4 separate regions of the Homo sapiens genome follow, and all the other regions are linked to region 4. Evidence: promoter capture Hi-C in 16 types of primary human blood cells and fetal thymus (Javierre and others, 2016). All regions are on one chromosome and are shown on one strand. Each heading gives the region's core, a stretch centred on a gene start or on the middle of the fragment in contact. The rest is flanking DNA. Distances are from core to core; before and after follow the strand shown.

Region 1 (4,799 bases), core at 2,007-4,506, 360 kb before region 4:
AGCCCCACTCTAATGCCCTGCTTTTTAAGTCAGCAGGACACACATCTAGTGCTGCATAAAGTATATCCAAGGGATATATTTGCATAGGTAAGTCTTAAGGGAATTTCTAGGCCCTCAAATTCTATACGTATTTTTTCTTAAAATTGACCTGCCTGAGAAAGTGGTTGTTGATGAGGCCTCACGCTGGTTGGTTTTTTTTTTTTTTTTTCCTTTCCTCTCCTTTTACAATCACATTTCTCTCGTTTTACAAAACATAGGTATACTTCCTACCCAGGCTAAATCTTACTCTAGCTCTGGGCTCCAGTTCCAGGCATAAAAATGTTTGTGGCACCAGACAAAGGGACAACAAGGAAGTTTGTTGTCTGTGAAGTCTTTTTCTTTATCAGTTATCCACAACCACTCCTATCCATCTTCCTAGATTTGTAGTCCTGTTAAAATTTTATTTTTCATGGATAATAATTATTTAAAATTTTACTATAGACATGGTTTTGATCATGCATGTGCTAGTAATGAAGGTAACCATAACTCATACCTAAAGATAAAAAATTTATGAGCCTTGTTTTATTTTTTTTGAAAATAAAAATAAGAATCTCAGTCTATAGCTGTTGTTTTATGACTGAGAAATACGATGGAGGGACAATATAAGACTTTGAGGCATAAAAATATATTACATAAGAGACAAACTCAGTGAGGAAACACAATGTAAATAATTATTTTGATTAAAAAAAAGTGGTGTACAAATTCCAACTCTATTTTTCAAATGGATGTTGGTTGGTAGTAAATCACTAGGGTTTTAATAGTTCATCAGATATATTAAAAAGAGTCATGTAGTAGCTTATTTTTAAATGCCAGTACTTAGAGCAGCTATTACATCCTTTGCAACTATTTAAACTTGTGATTAAAAAAATTTTAGTTGTCAACTTTATAATGTGCAATGTGGATTCATGGTTTAAAAAGAATTTTTGGGAGCATGTGAGCAAAAAAACTGAAAGACCAGTGCTCTAAGAAATGGTAGGCCTCATCTTGAAGTGAGTACCTGAATAACTGGGGCTGGGGATGAAGGGGGCACTGAGTGGCCAGGGAGAGAATTTGGATTCGGGAGAGGATAATGAGTAGAAAAGCTGATCTGGAAGTAGAGGCTGCTTCCCCTGTGATATGGTTTGGCTGTGTCCCCACCCAAATCTTGTCTTGAATTGTAGCTCCCACAATCCTGTGTCATGGGAGGGACCTGGTGGGAGGTAATTGAATTATGGGGGCAGGTTTTTCCCGTGCTGTTCTTGTGATAGTGAATAAGTATCACAAGATCTGATGGTTTTATAAGGGGCAGTTCCCCTGCACATACTCTCTCACCTGCTGCCATGTAAGATGTGCCTTTGCTCCTCCTTCACCTTCTGCTAGGATTGTGAGGCCTCCTCAGCCATGTGGAACTGTAAGTCCATCAAACCTCTTTTTCTTTATGCATTACCCAGTCTCAGGTATTTCTTCACAGCAGCACAAAAATGGACTAATACACCCTGAGAGCAATTGAACAATTCTGGACAGTGTTCAAACGCAGGATAAATGGAGGGAAGAGGTAGGCAGTGATGTTCTGAAGGTCCAACCCAGTAGGCTTAGCCTAACCAGGGTGGGAGGTCTGTCCAGAAGGTGGACAAACCTCAAAGTCAGGTATGTGAGGGGTGATGAGCCTAGATTACAGTTGGGAACCTGGCAAAGATGTCAAGACCTCAAATTAAGGACACTGGGCTTCAGAAGAAGGTCCTCATATTAGGGTTAGGCTAATCAGCAGTTAGGCCATGCAACAAGAAACCCCAGTATCTCAATGGTTTAATACAGCGAGGCTTTTTCCTTCCTCGTGTAACAGTTTGATGACTTAGTGTCATGCCAGACCCCTATTAATCTCAACAGGGAAGGAACCATGTTTGAGAGGCTGAAGAAGAAACCCAGAGCTAGCAAATGAGATATAAATTATTATTAGAGGAAATTTACATGTAGGGATGGTCCAGTGGCAGTGGGCCAGACAGAACTACAACCACTTGCAAATAGTATGTAGTTTATAAAATAGCATTTCCACTTCGCACCCTCCCCTTAACAACCTCCACCTGACAACCTTCATTTAACCCAAAACAGAGGACTATGATCCCCTGTATGGCTCGTGGTCCTTGGGACAGGCTGAGGGTTCAGATGTTCGTCACAGATAAAGAATGAACCTCCAGGCTGGCCACTCCCAGATTCCTGAGCTTGGAACTCTGAACACACATTCAGCTGTGTCTGCCATACAGGGTCATTCTCAGAGTATGCTGAAGTTATTGCTGTCAGGTGCGTTTGCCATATACTCAGGGACCTGGGTCCCTTCCTTCTTAGTCTCCATCTTCTCCAGGAGCCAGAAAAAAAGGAGAGAGAGAGCATCAGGTGGCACTGTTTATGGGCCTTTCATGGAAGTGACACCTGGGGTTACTTCTGCTTATGTTCCTTTGGACAGAATTCAGTTGAATGGTCATACTAGAGGTAAGGGAGTCTGGAAAAAGTGGTCTACTTGAATGTCCAGAAGGTAAATAAATAGGTTTGGTAAACTCCTGATGTTTCCCACCCCTGTCAAACTCTGGGGTCAGGCTTTGGTCTGGGTTAAAAATGCTGATTACCTAATTTCCATAAGCCTGTTTCTTTATCTGCAAAACAGGGATAATAATAGTACCTGTTTTGTAGTGTGAGGATTAAATGAGATGTGGAAGGCACAGGTTTAGGACTCAGTAACTGTTATCTCTCTATACCATTTCCAGGCATTGTGCCAGGCTTTGCAGGATAAAAAGAAGTTAGAGACAGGGACTTTGGATCCAAGTCCTCCCTGACTCAAAACCCAGAGAGGCAGAGGATGCTTGCCACCTTTGACTAGTCCTATCTCCTCCAAAGGGTCCTTTTGATTTATTAGCAAGAAGCCATCTTCTGACCACAAAGACAAGATTTCAAAGTTCTCACCCAGTTCCTAGCTAAAGATGTCCAAAGAGACTTCTAAGCCAATGATTTTCAACAAGGAAATTGAAGTTGTATGCTTTGAAGAGAGGGGCTTGATTGGGTGGCATCTTATGCTTAAGTGTGCATGGAAGAGCCATCCTACATGCAGCATGTGATGGGCCCCCAGGGACTGAGGACTTGTGTATGACTGGGAGTCTACGCAGCTTGGCTTCATATCAGTTCTTGCCATCTCGGATCCAAATGCTCTCCAGGCATGAAGTCATTTCCTCCAAGAGATTTGAAGATGCCCCAGAAGAATCTTAGGCTAAGGTCACTATTCTTAAGCTAAGGTCACTATTCTTATTCCTCTGAGAAAGGTGAAAGGTGGGTTGGGTGCAGTGGCTCACGCCTGTAATCCCAGCACTTTAGGAGGTCGAGGTGGGTGGATCACGAGGTCAAGAGATCGAGACCATCCTGGCCAACACGGTGAAACCCTGCCTCTACTAAAAATACAAAACTTAGCTGGGCATGGTGGCACGTGCCTGTAGTCCCAGCTACTTGGGAGGCTGAGGCAGGAGTCGCTTGAACCCAGGAGGCTGAGGTTGCAGTGAGCTGAGATCGCACCACTGCGCTCCAGCCTGGTAACAGAGTGAGACTCCACCTCAACAACAACAACAACAAAAAGGTGAAAGGTGTTTGATGGATGAAAATAGAGCTGAACCCTAACTTGTAACCACTCAATTTTAACTAGAGGTTGTCACCAAGTAAGAGATGCCCATCGACCTTGTGCACAAAGCTGGCGCTAGTCTATGAACTGTTGGTGAAGTCACACTATGAAACAACGTCTCTACCACCCATTCCCATACCATCAGCCATCCTGCTCTGGCATATGAGCAGGGGAATTCTTTTCCGTCCTCTCTGAAGGAACGAATAGTCTGAAATATTGAATTGGAAAAATGCTCAAGGCATCCATTCTACTCTCGTGGGCCCCATGTAGTTATCTGTTGAAGGCCTCGGATGTGCCAGAGACAATTCATTTGTTGTCATTAGTTCCCCCCACAACCCTCAGAAGTGAGTATACCTTCATGTCACAGATGAGATTATGTTCAAAACGGTTTAGAAGCTGCTCAAGGTCACATACCCACTAGGTGACAGATTTGAATCCAGAATTGTACTCCTCAACACAGAGCCCCCTTCTCACTATGCCGGAGATGCTGAGTTTCTTGGCCTGGGCTGCAGCCCCACACAGCCGGTTTTGAGCTCCCCAGGTGAATCTACTGGGCTCCCTGGGCTGAGAACCACTGCTCTACATCAGCCTTCTTACATGAATCAGGGGTTTTATTCCGCCTTGCATCACAGGTTCCTTTAGGGAAGTAAAAAAAAAAAAAAAAAAAAAAAAAGCTACAAGTCTTCTCTACAGCAAAATAAATGTTTATACATAAAAAGTTGCATACAATTTCAGATAATTATGGCATCTCTGAAGCCTCTGCGTGGATCCCCCAAGGGTCATGAACTTGAATTAAGAGCCAAGTCTATAAATCCTTGACACCAATTACTTGGCTGCAGATGGAAGTTGGCTGGGATCAGTTTAAAAATTCAGATTTCTGGGCCCCATCCAAGAACTACTGATTCAGAATCTCTGGATTTATACTCCTAGATGTTGCTGAATTATTCTTTATATATTAGAGAACAAGACAGTCTGTGGACTGGCTTTTGGGAACCACCCCTCTAAATAATGCCCACTCCAGGGATCAGAATTCATCTCAGCCACTTTTACCTCTGTAACATTAGGTAAGCTACGTGACTCTCCTAACTTTCCATTTTGTCTTCTGTAAATGGGGATAATAATT
Region 2 (5,107 bases), core at 522-3,021, 290 kb before region 4:
CATAGAAAAGATGTGTGTTTTACTTTAGAAGAAGCTCTTCTATAGTCTTCTGAAGCAGGTAAATTGTCCTGCATTTCCAGCAGCAGTATATGAGAGTTCTGGTTGTTCTAGCGCCTCACCAATATTTAGTGGTGTCAGTTTCTCTTAAAACTTGTAGCCATTCTAGTGGGTGGATAGTCAGTTCTCAATGGACCTTTCATCTGAATTTTCCTGATGAAAAATGATGGCATGTGCTACTTCATGTGCTTCTTAGTAGCTTGTACATCTTCCTGTTCAAGTCTCTTGCCCATTTTTGAATTTGGTTATCTTTTGATTACTGAATTTTAGGAGTTCTTTTATATACTTTGGATAGTCTCTTTGTCAGATGTTTGTGTGTTGTGAATATTTTCTTCCAATCTGTGGCTTGCTGATTAGTTTTTATAATAACGTCTTTCCATGAGCAGTTTTTAATTTTGACAAAGTTCAATTTATCAATTTGTTTTTCATGATTATTGCTTGCTATGAACTAGGAAACTTTTGACTACTCCTGAGTTCTGGAGATATTCTCCTATACTTTCCTTTATAACTTTCATAGTTTAAGCTTTTTCATTTAGCCTTATGACCCATTTCAAATTAATTTTTGTGTATACTATGAGGTAAGGATTAAGGTTGGTTTTACTCATGGGGATATCCAATTGTTTTAGACTTTCATTTCCCCCTTGAATTGTTTGTTGTTGTTGTTTGTTTTGTTTTGTTTTGAGATGGAGTCTCGCTCTTGTTGCCCAGACTGGAGTGCAATGGCGTGATCTCAGCTCACCGCAACCTCCGCCTCCTAGGTTCAAGCAATTCTCCTGCCTCAGCCTCCTGAGTAGCTGGGATTACAGGCACCAGCCGCCACATCCGGCAATTTTTATTAGTATTTTTAGTAGCGATGGGGTATTAGTATTTAGTATTAATATTTTTAGTAGCGACGGGGTTCTCCATGTTGGCCAGGCTGGTCTCGAACTCCCGACCTCAGGTGATCCGTGGACCTTGGCTTCCCAGAGTGCTGGGATTACAGGCGTGAGCCACCGCGCCCGGCCCCCCCTTGAATTCTTTTGATGTTATTGCTGACAATTATTTGACTGTGTATTTGTGGGTGACCCAAACTTTTGATCCCGAGGAAAAATGGGTATTTTATCACTAAGGACAGAATAATGCTATTTCTATGTTCTTTCTAAGTTTCCTGGGATCTGATTCATATCCAGCAACAGAAAAAAGTTCACCAAAGTTTACGGCTAAAATGAATGCCTCACTTTCAGTGGCTCATTCAGTTTGTTGACAAGACCTCTACAAAGTTGTCCACATTAAGTTAGATAAGAGCCAAAAGCAGAGGCATTATCCAATTTGCTTTTTTGTGTATGAGCAAATAATTAAGCCTATTGGATGTCTTTGGTTACAACTAGTAATGCCTCAGTGCTCCTGTCTTAACCTGCATGTGCTTAAACAGTAAGTCAAAACTAAACCTCTTTGTTAGAGAAATTCGAACAAACAAATACTAGATAAAGAACATTTGACAAGCCACTGAAAAACCCTTCAGTTGGCCCTTCAAGGAGAAAGGAATAGCAGAAGCTCTGGAGGTTTAAAACTGTCCTAAAAATAGGAATGACCATAGAAGAAACGTTCCCCAGAATCAACTTCTTAAAGGATGCCAGCACAGCTCTCCTCTGAAGTTCTGGAAATCAGCCTTTTGCCCAGCCAGTGGTTGCCACCTGTCCTGTCATTTCAGAGGTTTTGATAGTGAGATTGGGTGGGGAGTCCTTTGTGCAGCCCGGTGGGGGCAGACGTGAGGCAGCCATTTTGGCACCAGCCTTGCAGGTCTGCAGAGAGAACTTTGCAGTGTAAGCAGTGTTTATGTTTCAGATTCCCAGTGGGTGTGAAGCCTTGTTGAGCACACAATGCCTGCCACTGTAGCCTACTTGGGGCTAGGAGCCTGGGGTGGATGGAGACGAGCACTGTGGTTATGAAGGGCTTTATAGTCTAGTGAGCCAAACCTCTGGATGAACCTGTTTATCTCGTTGTCAGAAAGGGTACTTTATCCAGGGAATTAATTCAGAAGTGAAAGGCATCACGTGGGAGTTAGGCTAGATATGCCTAACCCAGGCTTCTTCCTTCTCTCCTTCCTGAAACCTCTAACTCAGCTAAAGCACCAAAAAGGAAAATTATATCTAATTAGCTTAACTACTGGAGACCCTCAAATCTCTTCACTTGGTGTAGGATCATGGAAACCAAAACAATAAAACATTTGTTGGGAATGCCAAGCCCTCCTCTGAGACTGACTTATGTAAAGGAGCATGAGTCCTTCCCTGTGCTTTCCTTGAGGCTTCCCCGTCCTTTCCCTGAGCCCTGTATTGTTTGGGTAAATGAGTGGGAAAGACTAAGACAGGTAGATCGGTAGAAGAGGTACTAAATCAGGCATGTGTCTGTATGTGTGTTTCAAATCAGAGGATGGTAGGATTTCTATACATGTGATAGGAAGGAGGATGAAAGAAAACTGTATAAAAGAGAAAGAAAAAATACGCGTGGCAAAAGGAGAAGAAAAAAAAATCAGTGCAGTGTGTTGCATAGAATGAACGCAGGATTTGGGGCCAGATATACATTGACACCTGCCACTATTACTACTTCTACTACTACAACAAATGCCAACAACAGCATGAAGAAGGCATAAATTATTGTGTGTTTAACTGTGTTCTGGAGCAACATTAGACCTGTTAAATATATTATCTTATGTATTACTTGGGACAATGATATAGGGTATATTTCATTATTCCCATTTTTCAGATGAGGACAGTGAGGCCCAGAGAAATTAGTGACTTGTCATGATCCTATGGCTAGCTAATACATGGAGAAGCTATGAGTTGAAAACAGGTCTGCTTGACTCCAGTGCTTGCACTCTTAACCTTGCTCCAGTAAATGAAGGACAAACATTCATTCAATAAGCTTACACCGTTTGTAACTGGTTCAAATCCTGCTTCTGTCCCGTGACCTTGGATAACCTCTCTGATCTCAAGTTTCTTTGTGTGAAATATAAACTAATGCCTGTGCTTCCCAGCTTGCAGAGTTGCTAGGAGGATTAAATGAGATAACTCATGTGGAGGTGCTTGGTACATTGTGAAGCGCTAAACAAATGTGAGGGCTTGCTATTTGGGGCTTTTTTGCATTTTCTGGTTTCTCTGCTCCTTTGCAGAGATGCTCCCACTTATGAATCTGCAAAACTGTTGATGTAGTCCATGATATTAGAAGCTACTTTTCATCCAAACACACATCCTTTTTTCTTCTCACCATTTTCTCTCACCAGGGGCAGCTACATTCTATTGCTCCCAGTCTCCAAAAGGGGAATTGAACAATGAGAACACATGGACACAGGAAGGGGAACATCACACACCGGGGCCTGTTGCGGGGTGGGGGGAGGGGGGAGGGATAGCATTTGGAGATATACCTAATGTTAAATGACGAGTTACTGGGTGCAGCACACCAACATGGCACATGTATACATATGTAACTAACCTGCACGTTGTGCACATGTACCCTAAAACTTAAAGTATAATTTAAAAAAAACCAAAAAACACAAGTTTGAAGTTCAATAAAAAAAATCAAATATAGCAGATTCCAAATAGCCACTCAGCCAGAGTCAGGAAAGAATAGATATTTCCTATATCTTCATAAAGGGTGAAGGAATAGAAGTTTGTGGATTAACTAACACTTTAAAATTATTTCAAGTCTAGTAAATGCAACTGAAGGTAGAGACAGTTGAGCTGTAGAGGCAGAAAATCACCATGACTCAGAATCTAGTCTTTAATTTGCTTAGGATCCAATGTCAATTAGGCTGAGTGAAACTGACTGACATCAACCACATTCTAAAATATAACTTGAAAATCAAAATTAAAAATTATATATAATTTCTAAGCTGCACTTCAGGCTCTTTTATGTGCATGGGAAATATAAGACCAGGTATCCTCAGGTGATCAGAGTTTATTTTTAAGCTAAGCAAGTGGAGAGCAAGACCACAAAACCATGCTGAGGGTATATGCATGCTCTGGTGGACCAAGTATTTTCATGACCAATGCATCCTGAAAACCTGGGGAGAACTTGAACAATGGCCTGTCATCATGTAGGGCATCAGGACCAACTTCCCTCCCTTTATTGTGTCTTAATCCCAAAACAAAGGTTCTGATTCATAGACATTGTCACCATTTTCTTTGAAGTTTCTGCATTGGGTGGAGTCTCACAGGAGCCATCTCATAAGTGATTGGCTAACCTTATACCTGTAAATGAGTATCTTTGTTGGAACATTGGTAATTGATCCAATTATAGAGCCCAAGGCAACTGGTTTGACTCAGACACTGGCATGTACCATGTGCAACCAGATTAGCCCGGCATAGCTTTCCTTTAAAAAGGAGGTCTTTCTAAGGAGCATGCCAGGCGTGTTGAACTTCAAGCAATACTTAAAAATTTGTGTCAGCTGGACAATGTGTTCCCTGCCCTGTAGGGATACTCTCCATGGGAGCTTTCTTGCTGAGCGTGGAATCAGAGCAAGGGGAGTGAATCGCATGACTTTAATGACATCAGGCAGTGCCAGCCGGGTGCGCATAGCCTTGCCGAGTACTTCTTTCCAATTGAGCATGTGGATGTGAATGTTTCCATCCCAGGGACTTGCAGCCAGGGTGAGAGAAGCAGGAGGAAGCATCCTGAAGGGTCTTGCTTGGCCCGCTGTGGTTTTAGATCTTACACATCAATAGACACATTCTAGGGTTACTTTCTTCCTACTTATTATTGCCTCAAAGGCATTGCATCTGCTGGTCTTTGTACAGCACTGGAGGCAGCATTCCTGACTCTTTCGACTTCACTTTTACTAGGTTCCAAGCACACCATTCCCCATCTGTTAATGCATTTTTGGTGTCAGGCAGGGAACATTAAGATTGATGAGCTTTCAGCAGGTCTGCTTTCCTGAGACGACAACTTAGTCCTCTGCTCCTCAATGCACACAACACTGATGGGAGGGCTTTCTTAGGCCAGGCACTGTGCTGGGCACTGAGGACTAAAGCAAGGAGGAGAAATATGGTCACAAAGGCCTTACAGTCAGGTGGGG
Region 3 (4,611 bases), core at 986-3,485, 270 kb before region 4:
ATTCCATTCTTTAACAAGTGCATGCTCAAAATGGAGTGTCTGTGTCATCATTTTGACCCTTTAGTTAAAATGAAAACCTGGGCTAGGTGTGCTGGCACATGCCTGTAATCCCAGCATTTTGGGAGGCCAAGGTGGGTGAACTGTTTGAGCCCAGGAGTTCAAGACCCACTTGGGCAACATGGCAAAACTCCATCTCTACAAAAAAACTTAGCTGTGTGTGGTGGTACATGCCTGTAGTCCCAGCTACTTGGGAGGCTGGGGTGGGAGGATTGCTTTAGCCTGGGAGGTCAAGGCTGCAGTGAGCCGAGATCATGCCATTTCACTCTATCCTGGGTGACAGAGTGACACCCTGTCTAAAAATAAATAAATAAAATAAAATGAAGACCTAGACATTGGTATCAGGATGTCTGCATTGACAAACACCTGAAAACCCAATTCTAATAATTAAGGTAACAAATGGGATGCATTTAGCTCAAACAGCTCAAAGGTCAAGAGGGAGTACAGGCTTCAAGTGTAGTTTGATCAGGGTGTAGCTTCCTCTGCTTCTCCCTGTTTATCAGGTGTGTGGTTGGGTTGGATCCTCTCGAGGTGGAAAGAGGGCATCAGTAGTTATACCTGCTCTTCCATTCCTGTCCAAGGAGAAAGGATGGCATCGAGTAACTATAACAAGTCCAGGCTTTCCTCTGATTGAACCAGTCATTGTTACACTAATAATAACAACAGTAACAACAACTAATACTTCATGTACTCTTAATATATGTCAGGCACTCTTCTAAGTGCATCTGCTGCAGGAACTCTTTCAATCCTCATAAAAAGAGGAATGGTGGAAACAAACTAAATGTCTATCAACAGATGAATGCATAAAGCAAATATGGTATAGACATACAATGGAATTCTATTCAACCATAATAAGAAGGCAATTCTGCAATATAAAATGAGATAGATGAACCTTGCATACGTTATGCTAAGTGAAATAAGCCAGTCACAGAAAGACAAACACTGCATGATTCCACTTATCTGAGGAACTCAAAATAGTCAAATTCAAAGACTCAAAAAGTGGAAAGGTGGTTTCCAGGGGCTGGGGAGGGGACAAAATGGGGAGTTACCAATTAGTGGGCATAAAGTTTCAGTCAAGCAAGATGAATAAGTTCTAGAGATCTGCCGTACAACATTGCACCTATAATCAACAATAATGTTTCACACTTAAAAAATTTTAGAAGGGTAGATCTCATGTTAAATGTTATTATAATAAAATTTTAAAGGCAAATAAATAAACAGAAAACCCAAACGAAACGAAACAAAAAACAATGGGACCACCCTGATTTGTTAATTTGGTCAAGCCCAACCCCTGAACTGAGAGAGGAGGTAAGGCCCCCCACCAGCTGAAATTATAAGACTGATACACAAGGTGAAGGATAGATATTAGGAAAATAACCGCAGTATGAACTACAACCATGTGTTTGAAAAGTTATAACTCTGTTCCATGCTTCAGATTTCCTTAGTGATCTAGCTTAATACAGGCAAAACCAAGATACGTTCTCCTTTCATTGTCCACATTACTTACATTACCTTTCGTCACAAATGTTCTAATGTCACAGTATTGTTTTCTTCTTGCAGATACAGATGCCAACAGAAATTGAGTTAGGAAGCTTGCAGGCTTCCAGAAATTCATCAACACCTGATCAGCTTTTCTGCTGCAAGTTAAAGTGACCTCTGAAGAGGTCAAACCCTAGGTCCCTTTGATTCTGCTACTGTTCTGACATTTGCAGAGGGGTGTGAAAACCTCTTTGCTTGTTCTGGCTTGTGTGAGCTGCTTTATCTCTTACCCTAGACGTACAGTAAGAAAAGAGCAATCAGAGACAGGCATTTGGTGAGGCTTTAGTTTGTCCCACTTTCACTCCTGCCCCCACCTCCCACCTTGTCCATGTTAGGTGTTCCCTGTAAGAATGAAATGTACTGATCCGATATTTTCCCATTTTTAAACTTGAATTCAATTAGACTTTTGTCATGGGTCATATAAAGCAGAAATGCATGTGTATTATGATTTCTGGCATATTCTAATGAATCAAGTGTTAATGTCATAAGGCTTCATTGATTTGAAATAACGGGCAATTTACTGACTGAAGGCTAAATATTGGTACAAATGAGTACAACATATTTTTGAAAATAATTTGGCAATACTTTATCAAAAGTTACAAAATATTTGTGTCTTTTATATAGCAATCCCACTCCTAGGGGTTATTAAAAGTGGAGGGGGGAAGCCTCATGCACAACAATGTTCATTCAAGACTGTCTTAGAATAATATAAATGTAAACAATACATATTCTAACCATATGCATGACTAAGACAATTATAGTAAAAACTTCTTAGAGGAAAATATTATGTAACTATTAGTTATTCCCTTTGTTTGGAACACTTTCCACCCCCTCTGCCTTATTTCTCTGCCAGCTAACTCCCACTTAGTCTTCAAGACTCAGGGTACCCACCACTGTGCTTATATAACACCTGGGCACACCTCTATTAAAACATGTATAGCCCACTGCATTGTAACCCATGATTTTGCCTGTTAGTGCCCTCCACTGGATTGCAACTCACTGAGGCAGAGTCTGTCATTTGTGCAACAAGTTAAAAATCAGAAAGCAATGGGGCAATAAATAAAATTATTTCTGATATATAGAATTTAGCTTCAGCTAATTCAGACCTGCCTTCGTTCCCTGCTCCCAACCCCCTCCAGCCTCCAGCAGCAGCAGCAGCAGCAGCAGCAGCAGCAGCGCCCCTGAAGTCTCTTGTGGAAGGTGAGAAATCTACCGATAAGCTTTCTAGTAGGAGTGTCTTTGGGGAGGGAGTGAGTGGGAGATTAGAAATGGGGCCGGTGGAATATTCCTGCAAAACTCCAGGAACCATTAGCATTCCACTTCTTCTTACAAAGATTGTTTTCATGTCTGAGTTGCCCTATATAGTGCAGAAATTGAGAATGCAAACGTGCAAACGATCGGTGTGATCTACTGAAAGGCGATGCGCGTTCCCTTCTTGCAGGCAGAACTGCCTTAGGAAGCATGAAAGTGGACGCAGCCCGGTGCCAGGTGTCAGCGATTTGAGCTCGCTTCCGGGCCCCATTCATTTCCAGCCCGGCTCCCAGATACTTCCCGAGGCGCTCCCTTTTGCCCGCCCGACTTCTGAGCGGAGCGCTCGGGTGTGAGGAGAACCGGCAAATCCTCGCGGGCGCTGGGCGCTCGCGGAGCCGCCCGCGCCCAGCCCCGTCACGTTGGCTGCCGAGCGCATCCCGGCTGCGCCCCGGCGGGGAGGCGCCGAGGGTAGCTAAGGGGAGCAGGTCACGTGAGAGGAGGAGTCTGACCTACTTTCCAGGCGGTAGGCGCATGCGCACTTCCCATCTGCGCTCCGGCCGGGAGGCTCACGTGGAATCGCACGTGCCTGGTCCTGCAGCTAGGGGCTCCTGGCCCGGGGCGCGCAGGGGCGGGTCCGCGGTGGGACCCGCGGAGAGGGGCGCGGCGGGGCGGAGCGCTTGGAGACTCAGTCTGCGGGTCCCGCAATCATCATCCGTGACAACCACAGCCTCTGGAGAGCTGCTTAGGCTCCCTGCGGGGCTTCCCACGAATTCATCACATTCAACATTCGTGAATTCAGAAATTAAGACAAAGACTGCACCTCTGCCCTGTAAATCACTAGTTCCGCAACTCAGAATTTATCCTGCAAATGGGCTTCTGCTCCTGCGAAGTGAAGTCCCTGCAAGGATAATCATTACATCATTGTTGGACATCACAAACGGCCAGAAACAGTCAAAATGTCCAACGATAACACCGGTTAAATTCATAGAAACGTAAATTATGGTTGGGCCACACTTGAAGTTGTCTGCAGCTCTTAAAAACAAATAGACTCTGCTCTCTAGACACTGATATGGAAAGACCTTCAAGATACATTATGTGATTTGTAAAAAAAAATGATGCAGAACAGTGTCTGGGATGCTGACATTTGTGAGGAAAAAAATTATATATGTATATATGTTATGATCAGACTAGTTCTGGAAAAATATATTGGATGACTGGGGGTGGGGGTCAGGGAAGACGCGAGACTCCATACTTATGTAACTTTTAAATTTTGTACCATGGATGATTAATCTTTTTTTTTTTTTTTCCAAATAACATTTAAAAACAGTTATTTAGCACTTACCCTGTGCTGGGCACCAGCTTTTATGTAAATCATTTCCTCCTAGAAAGTTTGTCATGTACAGTATCTGCCGCATTTCCTGTTCTGTTCAGCTTGAATCTTAATGTCTTAAGCTTTCTGATACACAGTTGAGACGTTTTTTAAAATCCCGATATGAACAACCGAAGCCCTCCACATCTTTAAGATTCTTTTCAAGTTCTGTCTCTTGAGGGAAAGTATCTTAACCAAGAGGCTCTCAGCAACAAATACTTGCATAATAAAGCTGACACAGCAGTTTCACATATGTGATTAGCTTTTACTCTCCCGATTGTGAGTTTGTAGTGCAGATATTATTATCACTGTGGTTAGTACATATGTGCCGGTTATATTCGGTTGCAAGTTAACTAAAAGTCCAACTCTAAGTGGCTTGAACGGTAAAGCTCATT
Region 4 (4,446 bases), core at 178-2,677:
CCCCTGGGCCTTTGCTTGGCCTGGAATTGTTATTGAGTAGGTAGCTCCTTATCATCGTTCAGATCTAAACTCAAATGTCACCTCTTCAAAACGTCCTTACTTTACTACCGCTTCTCATGACTGTCAATCATACTATGTTATTACATTGTCTTCACTGCACTGATTGTTATCTGAAATTCCCTTATTTCGGTAACTGTTACTTGATTATTTTCTGAGTCCCTCAGCAGAAAGGACACTCCATCACTGAAGTGATCTCCCGACTTGTTCTGTGCTATAGTGCCAGCAGGTCGATTGGTGTCAGGCCCACAGTTGAGAGGGCAATAAATAAATAAAATGTCGAATGACTAGTTAAAATTTCTCAGGCCTCCAAGTTCCTCATCCACATAGTGGGGATAATTATACCTGCTCTGGCCATTAGAAATGGCCACGTAGCAAGTAGAAATACAGCCTAACTTTTAACTACATTCTTACTATGCCTCAGTCATCATGAAAGACGTTATATGAATATTATTCATTTACTGTTCTGATTTCCATTTTACAAGTAAGGACACCAGGTCTTAGAGGACAAGTAACTGACCTAAGGGCACAGGGCCATGGTGAGGACCCGGGTAAAAATCCAGAACCCCCTAACCTCAGAACCTGAGCTCTTAACTGCTATTTTATAGTTTCTAGAAAGATGCTTCCTTCTAACACAGTAAAATCCGCTATGCTGTCTGCCCCCCTCGAGTTCGTCCTGTGGGACAACTGAAGAAAGCTATTACATCCTCCCACGGGGTTCGTTTCTTTCAGTCTCTCCTTAAATGGCCCTCCTATCCTGGTCACTCTCTCCAGAACAAACTTCAGCGTGACAGCCTCCCTCCTGCTCCAGCTGTGGTGCTTTCCACTGGGCAAGTTGTAAGGGGCATCAGAGCAGGGGAAGCCGACTGCCCACGGGCTGAGAAAATGCAGGTGTCGTGGGTGCCCATGAGGGCTGCGGTTAACACAGCAAGGCTTCCTGAGAGAGGTGATACTTGAACTAAGTCCAGGGCAGTGAGCACAGGAGCCAGCGGCCAAGGGACCCCAGGAGAAAAGACCGCGGGAGAGCGTCGCCGGGGCTGCCGGGTCGAGACAAAGGCTGGTGGAGTTTAAATAAAGATCACAGGCGCAACCCCAAGTGATGGCAAGCTTGCACGCGGACGGGCGAAACGCATTTTCCTAAATGTTAAGAGACGTTCTGGCGAGAAGCGAAGTGGGAGTAACAGTCACAAAGCAAAACGCAAACTTACCCGTAATCTGGCAACCCGGCCTCCGTAGCCCGACTGCAAGCGCTGCCACCTGAGGAGCCTGGTAGCCAAGGCAGCGGCAGGCTCAACCCAGATCTCGCGAGACGGAGCACGCCTCGCGAGATTTGACCTCTCGTCCCTGAGAGGCGGGTGGGTGTTAGTTCAGAGGGTTATGGGAGGGCTCTGGCGTCCTGGATGGAGGTGCGTTCCTTTCTGTGGCTGGCGCTGGATCCACCCTGGGTCTCCAACCAGGGCTGCAGAGAGGGTAGAGCCGTTTCTTAGGCCAGAGTGGAGTGGGACAGGAGGTGCCGAGAGAGGACTGAGGTGGCTTGGGACATGGAAGCGCTGCAGCCTTCGAGCCCGGCATCCAGCATTGCAGCCGCCGCGGCGGCCTAAGAGCTCGAACCCTTTCACACGCGCGCAGGAGGAGGAGCGGCGGCGGCAGAACAAGACGACCCTCACTTACGTGGCCGCTGTCGCCGTGGGCATGCTGGGGGCGTCCTACGCTGCCGTACCCCTTTATCGGCTCTATTGCCAGGTAGGGGCCGGCGCCGCCCGCAGGGTGGCGCAGACGCGAGAGGTGGGGGTGCAAGACAAATCCCGGGACAAGCCCTCGCTCTGCGGGTCGTAGGTGGAAGAGGTTTCCGATATTATCTACCTAAGAGGAGAGAGGTTCAAAACAGTCACTTAACACCCAAAGTCACCAAAGAAATTGGTGACAAAACTGCAAGTAGCATCCAGTTCTTAGTGATTGTGCTTATACCATGCTGCAGAGTGAAACCCCTGATCTATGAACTGCACCTCGCCAAAAAAAAAAAAAAAGGTCCGCAGCCTCTAACCGGGTATCTAGCAGTCTGCCTTACCCTCCTGCGCACACACGCTTTTAAAATGTATTATTCATACATTCACTCTGCAAACCACATGTGGTTTATGTGCCAAGGGTAACTCTGGAAATTGGACTACTCGTGTTTCTTGGGCTTAAACTGGGATTAGCAGTTCCTCCGTACAAAGAGGCATGAATTAGGCCTTTGAGGCTCTCTCGCCCCACCCCTGTTAATATATAACTGTAATGTACTTAACCTGGAAACTGTTAAGTACATTGCAACGGTTCTGGGAGTGTGGCGCCCAGGACCGGCAGCATCAGCATCACCCGGGAACCTGTTAAAAGTGCAAATTCTAGGGCCCGACTCCAGGACTGAGTCAGAAACACGGGGTGGGGGGGTGGGGCGGGGAGAAGAAGGGGAGTGGGACCAGCACTCTATATTTTAGTTAAGTCCTGTAGTTGATTTTGAGGGCAAGTTTTGAGAACCACAGGCAAAGACAAGTTTCACGTATTTTAGAGATTTCTCCTTTGTTCTTAGCTAATAATTTGCAGCTTTGGCTGGCCATTAGGATCACCTATGGAGCTTAACGTTAAATACACGTTCCAGGGATCCCCTACCCCAGAGATTCTGGTTAGGAAGTCTAGGGTAGGGACAGGAATTTCGGTTTAAAAATCATGCCACAAGTGATTCAGTAAGTGTTTAAGATAGTGGCTCCCAAAATTCATTGTACAGCAACATTGGGAATCACCTGGACAGCTTCTAAAAATCCACACACATTACCCATTTTATCACAAGGCCACAGTGGGAACCAGGCATCAGTAATTGTCAAGTATGTTTTAGGTGATTCCAGCGTGCAGGAAAGTTTGGGAATTGTTTTTTTAACACCATGACTGGTATTCTTAGCTGGAGTTCACTCTTTCCGTGTGTGTGTGTGTGTGTGTGTGTGTGTGTGCGCGCGCGCGCACGTTTATTTATTTAAATTTGTAGAGACGAGGTCTCCCTATGTTGCTCAGGCTGGTCTCAACTCCTGGGCTCAAGTGACCCTCCTGCCTTGGCCTCCCAAAGTGCTGGGATTACAGGCGTGAGCCACCATGCCCGTGGAAATCAATTTACCTTTCTTTTAGATGATGAAGCAGAAGACAAAAGGACTTTTCTTTTCTGGCATAGTCTCCTAATGCCAGCATTTATGTGGGAATGTGCAATAGTTGATTTTGAGGATGAGTATAGAATGTGAATTACTTTTCATCAGAGACCAAGCCCAAGCATGAATTCTAAAACTACCAGTTGGTTAAATCATAAGCAGAACTGAATCCAAATCAGCAAATCTAGATCCTTCTCAGACCGCCAGGAGATTTTTGCCCCTCAGGGAACATTTAGCGATGTGTGAAGACATTTTTGGTTGTCACAACATGGAGGTGGGGGTATAGGGTGCTACTGGCATCTAATAGGTAGAGGCTAGGAATGCTACTAAATAACCAACAAAGCACTGCCTCACCCCCAAACAACAAAAAATTATTCAGCCCAAAATGTCCATAGTTCTAAGATTGAGAAACCCTGCCCCAAACTGAAATAACTGATAATATTGCGTGTGAAATGTGCCCACATGCAATCATAGATCAGGAAGCCAAATGTAATTTGTAATCTATCAGGTTCTTAGAGCTAGTAGCACAACTAGAATAGAGACCAGGACATCTTTTTAGTGCTGTTTTCTAGTCTTTTTGTCTATTTTACTTTAGGCATTGAACTTAGAAATTTGAACCCATATTCAAAGACTATATTGGAATCTTTATTGAGGGAGGACACTTAAAAGTATTTTTATTTAAGTGACTTAAATTTTTTAGTAAAAGAAGTTACATCTTAAACACAGCACTCAGGCAGAAGGATAAACAAGGATAAAGGCTTGCCCTCTGATGCATCTTTTAGGGATATAATGTAATTCAGTAATGTTGCATGGCAGTCAAATGAAGTTAGTTGACTTGCGTAACAAACAGAGAATGCTAAAACACTGTATCTTGCTGGGAGTCTTCCCCTAGCCTCAAATTTGTTTTTTGTTTTTTCTTCCTAGCATAGTAACAGGCAAATTATCCAGAAATCAGAATTCTGGCAACCTCAAGTATCAGAAGAAAGATGACCTTGGAAGTAAGGGCGTTTTTTTTTTTCTTTTGAGATGGAGTCTTGCTCTGTTGCCCAGGCTGGAGTGCAGTGGTGTGATCTCGGCTCACTGCAACCTCCGCCTCCCGGGTTCAAGCAATTCTTCTGCCTCAGCCTCCCGAGTAGACCTGGGACTACAGGCGCGTGTCACCACACCCGGCTAATTTTTTTCTATTTTTAATAGAGACGGGGGTTCACTGTGTTAGCCA

Evidence for each region. The method cuts DNA at HindIII sites, captures the fragments that hold promoters and counts their contacts. A CHiCAGO score of 5 or more calls a contact.
Region 1: a fragment that was not itself captured here is called in contact with the fragment with the promoter of COX11 in region 4 in 1 of 17 cell types (naive CD8 T cells); the score reaches 6.9 in naive CD8 T cells.
Region 2: a contact is called between a fragment that was not itself captured here and the fragment with the promoter of COX11 in region 4, in 7 of 17 cell types (fetal thymus, non-activated CD4 T cells, naive CD4 T cells and 4 more). The highest score is 8.6, in fetal thymus.
Region 3: a fragment that was not itself captured here is called in contact with the fragment with the promoter of COX11 in region 4 in 6 of 17 cell types (fetal thymus, non-activated CD4 T cells, naive CD4 T cells and 3 more); the score reaches 9.6 in fetal thymus.

What each region holds. Positions count from the first base shown.
Region 1 is chr17:55,325,282-55,330,080 of GRCh38, reverse strand. No RefSeq gene overlaps it. Among named protein-coding and RNA genes, the nearest start is that of HLF, 63 kb to the right of the region's middle. RefSeq lists an enhancer at 2,059-2,353. The HindIII fragment of the contact is 9,433 bases long and covers 1-4,799 here.
Region 2 is chr17:55,256,662-55,261,768 of GRCh38, reverse strand. No RefSeq gene overlaps it. Among named protein-coding and RNA genes, the nearest start is that of HLF, 5.7 kb to the left of the region's middle. The HindIII fragment of the contact is 2,378 bases long and covers 583-2,960 here.
Region 3 is chr17:55,237,209-55,241,819 of GRCh38, reverse strand. No RefSeq gene overlaps it. Among named protein-coding and RNA genes, the nearest start is that of HLF, 25 kb to the left of the region's middle. RefSeq lists a silencer at 3,148-3,617. The HindIII fragment of the contact is 1,167 bases long and covers 1,652-2,818 here.
Region 4 is chr17:54,965,635-54,970,080 of GRCh38, reverse strand. COX11 (cytochrome c oxidase copper chaperone COX11) reads left to right here and starts at 1,427. Exons shown (of 4, transcript NM_004375.5): 1 at 1,427-1,800. The coding sequence starts at 1,435. It overlaps STXBP4 (syntaxin binding protein 4), which reads right to left and starts at 1,316. Exons shown (of 18, transcript NM_178509.6): 1 at 1,266-1,316. RefSeq lists enhancers at 999-1,048, 1,129-1,228, 459-1,407, 1,409-1,488, 1,499-1,558 and 1 more. The HindIII fragment of the contact is 10,915 bases long and covers 1,167-4,446 here.